Linked DNA regions of Homo sapiens: region 1 is linked to region 2. The links are contacts of gene promoters, found by promoter capture Hi-C in human tissues and cell types (Jung and others, 2019). All regions are on one chromosome and are shown on one strand. Each heading gives the region's core, a stretch centred on a gene start or on the middle of the fragment in contact. The rest is flanking DNA. Distances are from core to core; before and after follow the strand shown.

Region 1 (3,439 bases), core at 293-2,792, 500 kb before region 2:
ATCCAGGTCACTTGAGAACTTCTTCTTTGTCCTGTGCTATTCTGTAACTAAAATGTTTAGAAAAGCATGTTTAGGAAGAAATAAACAGTGGCTCATTTGACCAGACTCATAGTCTAGTCCAGCATTTTATCTCCTCCATCAGTAAAATAAGAGAAAACTAATATTTTTGTATGTTTACCATGTGCCAGGTGCTGTGCTAATCACTTGAGCATGTTTTTTCATTTAATTATTTACAGTATAATTATGAAGTAGTCATTATTTCTATTTTATAGATGAACAGATGAGCAGCTAGTGTTTAGACTCAGATCTATCTCTGGTTCTAAAGCCCATCTTCTTCCCATGACACCAGAAGGTATTTCAAGTAGGACCAAAGCACATGTCCTATTTATTTTACTTATGTATATATTTATTTTTTAGACATAGGCTCTCACTATGATGCTCAGGCAGGATTCAAATCCCTGGGCCCAAGGGATCTTCCCATCTGAGGCTCCCGATTAGCTAGGACTACAGGCACATGCCAGTGTGCCCAGCTTCAGGACATGTCCTATTATGCTCAAAATAACACACAGCAAACCCGACTTTAACTTTGAGACATACAAACAGCGCCCAAACTCCTCTTAACAGAGTCTGTTCTGAGTGGCTGACACTAGATTTTTACATATAAGAAGGCTGAGAAGCCAGAAGACAAGACTGGCCAGAAGAAAATATAAAGTCTCCATGACACAAGACACCCAGAATTTGGCATTTAATATCAGTAAAGAATTCTGACAGTGTTGTTGCCTTTGGCTGTGACCATCATCAAGGGCCATTGGATTATATAAGACTGCAACTGCACATACCAAATTAGCCTGAAAACTTTAAAGGGATCTTCTCAAGTAGAAGATGAATATATGGCTGTGTCTGAACCATCCTCAGTGACAAAAAGGCAAAGCTGAGACTTAATGTGATTCAAAGGTGTTAATCTAGATGTCGCTTACCTGAACTGATGGGGAATCTGTAAGAAAAAAGATGCTGGCCGGGTGCAGGGGCTCACACCTGTAATCCTAGCACTTTGGGAGGCCGAGGCGGGTGGGTCACCTGAGGTCAGGAGCTTAGGACCAGCCTAGCCAACATGGCGAAACCCCGTCTCTACTAAAAATACAAAAATTAGCCAGGCGTGGTAGCGCACGCCTGTAATCCCAGCTACTCAAGAGGCTGAGGAAGGAGAATCGCTTGAACCCAGGAGGTGGAGGTTGCAGTGAGCTGAAATCGTGCCACTGCACTCCAGCTTGTGCGACAGGAGGGAGGCTCCATCTCAAAAAAAAAAGAAAAAAAGAAAAAAAGAAAAAGGAAAAAAGATGCTATGATAGAAAGATTGGCTGCCTATATATATAAAGTACTGCAATGATATCTAGTTGGTTTTAATAATATGAAAAAAAGAATATTAGACAAATATTTAACTGAACAGAAACATTATTTGAAGATTCTCAATTTCATTTAAAAAGTCAATGGCTCCTGCTAAGTATGATAATTCAGTATTTTCTTTGTTTTGGGGAAGAAAACAAGATTTTTTTTCCTAAAGGCTTTCTCTCAAAAACTATTTATGCAAAGGGATTATGTCTCAGAATCATCAGACCCTGATTATATATATGCCTTTATGAGTTATAAATTACCCCTTTTTTGACCTATGAATTCCAGATATTATTAAAAGCAGGATATGGGCCGGGCGCAGTGGCTCACGCCTACAATCCCAGCACTTTGGGAGGCCAAGGCGGGTGATCATCGGAGGTTGGGAGTTCGAGACCAGCCTGACCAACATGGAGAAACCCCGTCTCTAATATAAATACAAAATTAGCCAGGTGTGGTGGCGCATGCCTGTAATCCCTGCTACTCGGGAGGCTGAGGCAGGAGAATTGCTTGAACCAAGGACGTGGAGGTTGCAGTGAGCTGAGATTGTGCCATTGCACTCCAGCCTGGGCAACAAGAGCAAAACTCCATCTCAAAAAAAAAGCAGGATATGGGTGTTTTATAGGTATTTTGCTGCCACTCCAACAAATGCAATCCAGAGTCTATTTCTTTTCAGGTTATTTTTGAAGTAAGGATTTACATATTTGAAGAGACTATCAAAAGAACCACAGTTGGCTGGGCACGGTGGCTCACACCTGTAATCCCAGCACTTTGGGAGGCCAAGGCGGGCGGATCACAAGGTCAGGAGATGGAGACCATCCTGGCTAACATGGTAAAACCCTGTCTCTACTAAAACTCCAAAAAATTAGCCGGGCATGGTGGCGGGCGCCTGTAGTTCCAGCTACTCAGGCTGAGGCAGGAGAATGGCGTGAACCCAGGAGGCGGAGCTTGCAGTGAGCCAAGATTGTGCCACTGCACCCCAGCCTGGGCGACAGAGCAAGACTCTGTCTCAAAAAAAAAAAAAAAAAAAAAAGAACCACAGTTAAGCTTACAAGAGTGTCTTATCCTTTAAGAGATCAAAGTGAAAATATATCCTGAAAATTTTTCTAAAATTTTGCTACATAAGAGCCATGTATGAGTACCTGTGTAGTAATTTTATCCCCACACATTTAGTCACTTGTTCCCCACTTAGTGAAGACCAATTTTACCTTTTAGTGGCAATAGAAAAACAACTCCTTTCTCTATTAAAAGGAAGAAAACACACTGCTATTGTCTCATTTTATCTTTCTATATAATTCAAAGACTAAATCCTCCTCTTGATCAGTTATGCTTCATTTCTTAGCCATTTAAAAATTATATTTTCCAATGTGTATAAATATACACATGAAAAGGATCTTAAGGTGGCCGGGCGCGGTGGCTCATGCCTGTAATCCCAGCACTTTGGGAGGCTGAGGCGGGTGGATCATGAGGTCAAGAGATCGAGACCATCCTGGCCAACATGGTGAAACCCCGTCTCTACTAAAAATACAAAAATTAGCTGGGTGTGGTGGCATGTGCCTGTAGTCCTAGCTACTCCGGAGGATGAGGCAGGAGAATCGCTTAAACCTGGGAGACGGAGGTTGCAGTGAGCCGAGATGGCACCACTGCACTCTAGCCTGGTGACACAGCAAGACTCTGTCTCAAAAAAAAAAAAAAAAAGGAAAGACAAAAGATTTTAAGGTGTACTAAAATATTAATAATCAAGGGATTGCAAACGATCTTTTTGTTTGTGGTTTTTCTCTATTTCCTAACCTTTCTAAAACAAGTATGTATTACTTTGGTAATAAAAAGTGATTATTTTCTTATGCAAGCACTTGTATCTGGTTTCAGTAGTGAAATGATCTTTAAAACCTGAAGAGTCTAGTAAACAATTTATGCAGAAAGTGCTAAAAAATCCTTAACATCTTCCAAGCCTTTTAAAAACAGTAAAAAATAAGCCTTAATAGGCTTCTAAAAGAAAAAAGTAGTTAGAGGAAAGAATTATAAGCTAGTAACTGGTATGTAATATAAAAGT
Region 2 (3,902 bases), core at 1,332-3,831:
CTTCTCAGTGTCTGAGCCCAGGAATGCTGCCAGAGTGGCCACATCGCAGCCAAGAAAAAGGGAGTGGGAATGAGAGCTTTTGTCATTCAATTCACAGCGCGGCAGGCTCTGGGTGAGCACATCCTGTCCACTGTCTCATTTGTGGTCACCACCTCCCTTCAAGGTGGGATCTTTTATGAGCCCCATCGATAGATAGGGACACTGAGGCTCAAGGACAGGAAGTTGCACATCTGGTCTCTCAGGCCTTTCTTTTCTTTTCTTTTTTTTTTTTGAAACAGAGTCTCACTCTGTTGCCCAGGCTGGAGTGCAGTGGCGCAGTCTTGGCTCACTGCAATCTCTGCCTCCCAGGTTCAAGCAATTCTCCTGCCTTAGCCTCTGGAGTAACTGGGATTACAGGCATGCACCACCACGCCTGGCTAATTTTTGTATTTTTAGTAGAGACAGGGTTTCACCATGTTGGCCAGGCTGGTCTCGAACCCCTGACCTCAGGTGATCCACTGTCCTTGGCCTCCAAAAATGCTAGGATTACAGGCGTGAGCCACCATGCCTGGCCATCAGAACTTTCTTTTCTGTAGAAAGCCTCGACTCCAAAATCCAGGAAGCATGACTGTGTCAGGATACTGTTTATATGAACCCTTCTGTCATTTGTCCTCCAGAGAGATATTAACACTCCCCATCCCACCAGGTGGGCTAAGGCTGGGACTGCTTTAACCCTTTCTCTCCTAGAGTCAACACTGGCATGGGCCTGAGTGCTGCTTCCTGCTGGGGGACCTGGGGATTTGGGTCTTGTGGATGAGCCGGACACCCCCCCAGCCCTCTTCTAGCTTGATGTCCCCCTGCTGCAGGGCCTGCTGGATAGCATCAGCGAGGGTGTCAAAGGCCAGGTCCACATTGCAGTTGTTTTTAACCGAGGTCTCCACGAAGGCCATGCCCAGGGAGGCAGCTAGCTCCTCGGCCTCCTGGGCTGAGACACAGCGGGTGCTCTGCAGGTCACTCTTGTGGCCAACCAGCAGGAAGATGACCTTGTCCGGGCCCTGAGTGGCCATGACCTCCTGGTGCCAGTCTTGGATGTGTTCAAAGGACTTCCTGTTTGTCACATCAAAGACCAGCAGGACACCCACCACATTCCGGTAAAAGGACCTGGTGATGCACCTGGGGAGGCAGGGAGGTGGAAAGGTAAGCTGGGAGAGGCTGATGCCTCCATGACACCCCCAGAGGCAGGACCTCCTCCCCCTGGGATCCACAGAATGCCTCACACCCCAACAGGGCTCACTTCACACGGCCCCGTGGTTCTCTGCCTCGGTGTCTGTGTCTCTCCTAACAGTCTGGGTGCTGGCCGGGTGCGGTGGCTCACGCCTGTAATCCCAGCACTTTGGGAGGCCGAGGCGGGTGGATGTGGATCACGAGATCAGGAGATCCAGACCATCCTGACTAACACGGTGAAACCCCGTGTCTCTACTGAAAATACAAAAAAATTAGCCGGGCGTGGTGGCGGGCGCCTGTAGTCCCAGCTACTTGGGAGGCTGAGGCAGGAGAATGGCGTGAACCCAGGAGGCGGAGCTTGCAGTGAGCCAAGATCGCACCACTGCACCCCAGCCTGGGCGACAGAGAGAGACTCCGTCTCAAAAAAAAAAAAGAAAAGAAAAAAGTCTGGGTGCTCCAGTTAGGGAGCAAGCGTGACTTGAATCCCTCATTCTTGGAGAAGGCCTGGTGCTGCCCTGACCTAGGTCTTCGTTCCTCTGTTCTCTTCCTGGCAAACTCCTGCTGATCCTCTCTCCCTTCCACATCTCCTCGACACTTCCCGCTCTGTTCCCCTGAGCTCTCAGCACCCGGGGCCAGTATCACTCAGCATCTCTCCAGAGTCCAGAGCTCAAAGCCAGGGATGTTCCTGGTCTCTGGGACTCGACCCACCCCGCAGTGTTCGTGGGAAAAATGACTCCGAGCAGGGGAGGTTCTGGCCCCAGTGGACCGGGCGGGACCCAGGGCAGGGACCTCGCCCTCCGCCTGACCTCTGAGTTGGCCTCTCGGGAGTTGCCGTGGCCTAAAGCACGCTCACCGAGCCCCCCACCAGAAGTCCCTCCCGCGCCCCGGCTACCCGCACCTGAAGCGCTCGTGGCCCGCGGTGTCCCAGAGTTGCAGCTTGACCCGCGGCCCGGCCCGCAGCTGCAGCGCGCGGCGGTAGCACTCGGCGCCCACCGTGGGCTCGGGCTCGGGCTCCGGCTCCGGGGCGCCAGGCGCGCCTGCCACGTAGCTCCGCAGCAGCGACGTCTTGCCCACCGCCGCGTCCCCCAGCAGCGCGACCCGAAATTGGTAGCGGCAGCCCTCGGCCTCCATGGCCGCGTCCGCCACCCCGCCGCCCCGCGGCGGTTTTGTCCGCGCCCCGACCCCGCCCCTGCCCGGGGCCCCGCCGGCGCCGCCCCCCGCTCCCCGCGCCCAGCCACCGTACCCGGCGGGGCACCGAGGGCGTCGGACCGAGTGGAAACTCCTGGCCAAGTTTCTCTCTCTCGAAGCCTCAATTCTCTCCTCTGTAAAAGGGGGCTAATGATGACCCCTACTTCACAGGATAAAGGGACTAAACTAGATGAAGTGAGGAGGGGCATGGGGAGGAGACTAACAGCGCTGAAGCATCCACCTCACTCATTTCTTAATCTCCAGCCCCACCCCCTTACCCGCTCCACACCGCTCCCCCGCCCCACCCCCCGCCTCCTCTGTGGGTTCCCTAGTTGGCGCCCAACCCTCTGCTGGACCCGGGAAGGCCACTCTGGAAGTGAGTGGTTAGTAGATGCTCCCTCTCCACCCAGAAGCCCTTTCCTGGAGCCCTCATTAGCCCCGGCCTGGGGCCTCTAGTTCAGTGTTCAGGTTCAACGTTCAACAGCCCCCACGGCTTCCTCTAATGCCTGTCTGAGTTGGACACCAGGGCCCCAGAAGGAACTTGGGCACAGTCTGGTTGAGGAGGCAGGACAGACACAGACAACTGCAGTTCTAAAGGGAGTGCAGTTGGCCTGTGGATTCGACAACTAACATGTATGAGGCCAACGGTCAGTTCATGTTTTGTGGACAGCAACCCTTTGACAGGGCCATGGGAGTGCCCCTCTTAGAGCTGAGGAGACTGAGGCTCAGAGGCACGGCTTGTCTCAGGTCACACAGCAGAGTTGGGACTCACATCCAGGTTTGTCTCATCCTTCATCACCCCTTCGATGCCACAAAAGGGGACAAAGCAGGTCCCACAAGCACTAAGACACTGGTTGAGTTTTGCTTGGGTGAGGGGCTAGGGTGAGGCAGCACATGAGCCTCCAAGGTTTACTCCACCCTTTCCAGGCTGGCCTTCTGGAAACCCAGGGCACTGAGGCTGGAGTTCCAGTTGCTCCAGCCAACTCTAGTCTCTCTAGTCTCGTTTTTATTTATTTACTTATTTTTGAGATGGAGTCTCACTCTGTCGCCCAGGCTAGAGTGCAGTGGCACAATCTCGGCTCACTGCAACCTCCACCTCCTGGGTCCAAGCCATCCTCCCAACTCAGCCTCCCAAGTAGCTGGGATTATAGGCACCTACCACCACGCCCAGCTAATTTTTGTATTTTTAGTAGAGACGGGGTTTCACCATGTTAGCCAAGGTGGTCTCAAACTCCTGACCTCAAGTGATCCGCCCGCCTCCATCTCCCAAAGTGCTGGGATGCTGGGATTACAGGTGTGAACCTGTACCACGTCTGGCCCACATGCACTTCTGACCATCTCTGATGTCAGTCTCTCTCCCAGGCTGCAGGCTCCTTGAGGGCAGGGGCTGATGATTGTATCCTCAGGGCCTAACTCAGCGCTTGGCATAAAGTAGAAACTCAAGGCGCAGTGGCTCACACCTGTGATCCCAGCACATTTGGAGGCTGAGGGTGGATCACTTCAGGTCAGGA

What was found. Contacts are between HindIII fragments. The study calls those that stand out against the background at their distance.
Region 1: a fragment that was not itself captured here is called in contact with the fragment with the promoter of RAB42 in region 2 in 1 of the 25 tissues and cell types used here (aorta).

The regions. Positions count from the first base shown.
Region 1 is chr1:29,085,921-29,089,359 of GRCh38, reverse strand. All of the region lies in intron 16 of EPB41 (erythrocyte membrane protein band 4.1), which reads right to left. Among named protein-coding and RNA genes, the nearest start is that of TMEM200B, 36 kb to the left of the region's middle. The HindIII fragment of the contact is 7,588 bases long and covers 1-3,439 here.
Region 2 is chr1:28,590,944-28,594,845 of GRCh38, reverse strand. It overlaps RAB42 (RAB42, member RAS oncogene family), which reads right to left and starts at 2,581. Exons shown (of 2, transcript NM_001193532.3): 1 at 2,102-2,581; 2 at 1-1,152. The coding sequence starts at 2,334. The coding sequence ends at 729. RefSeq lists an enhancer at 853-1,589 and a silencer at 2,371-2,440. The HindIII fragment of the contact is 15,812 bases long and covers 1-3,902 here.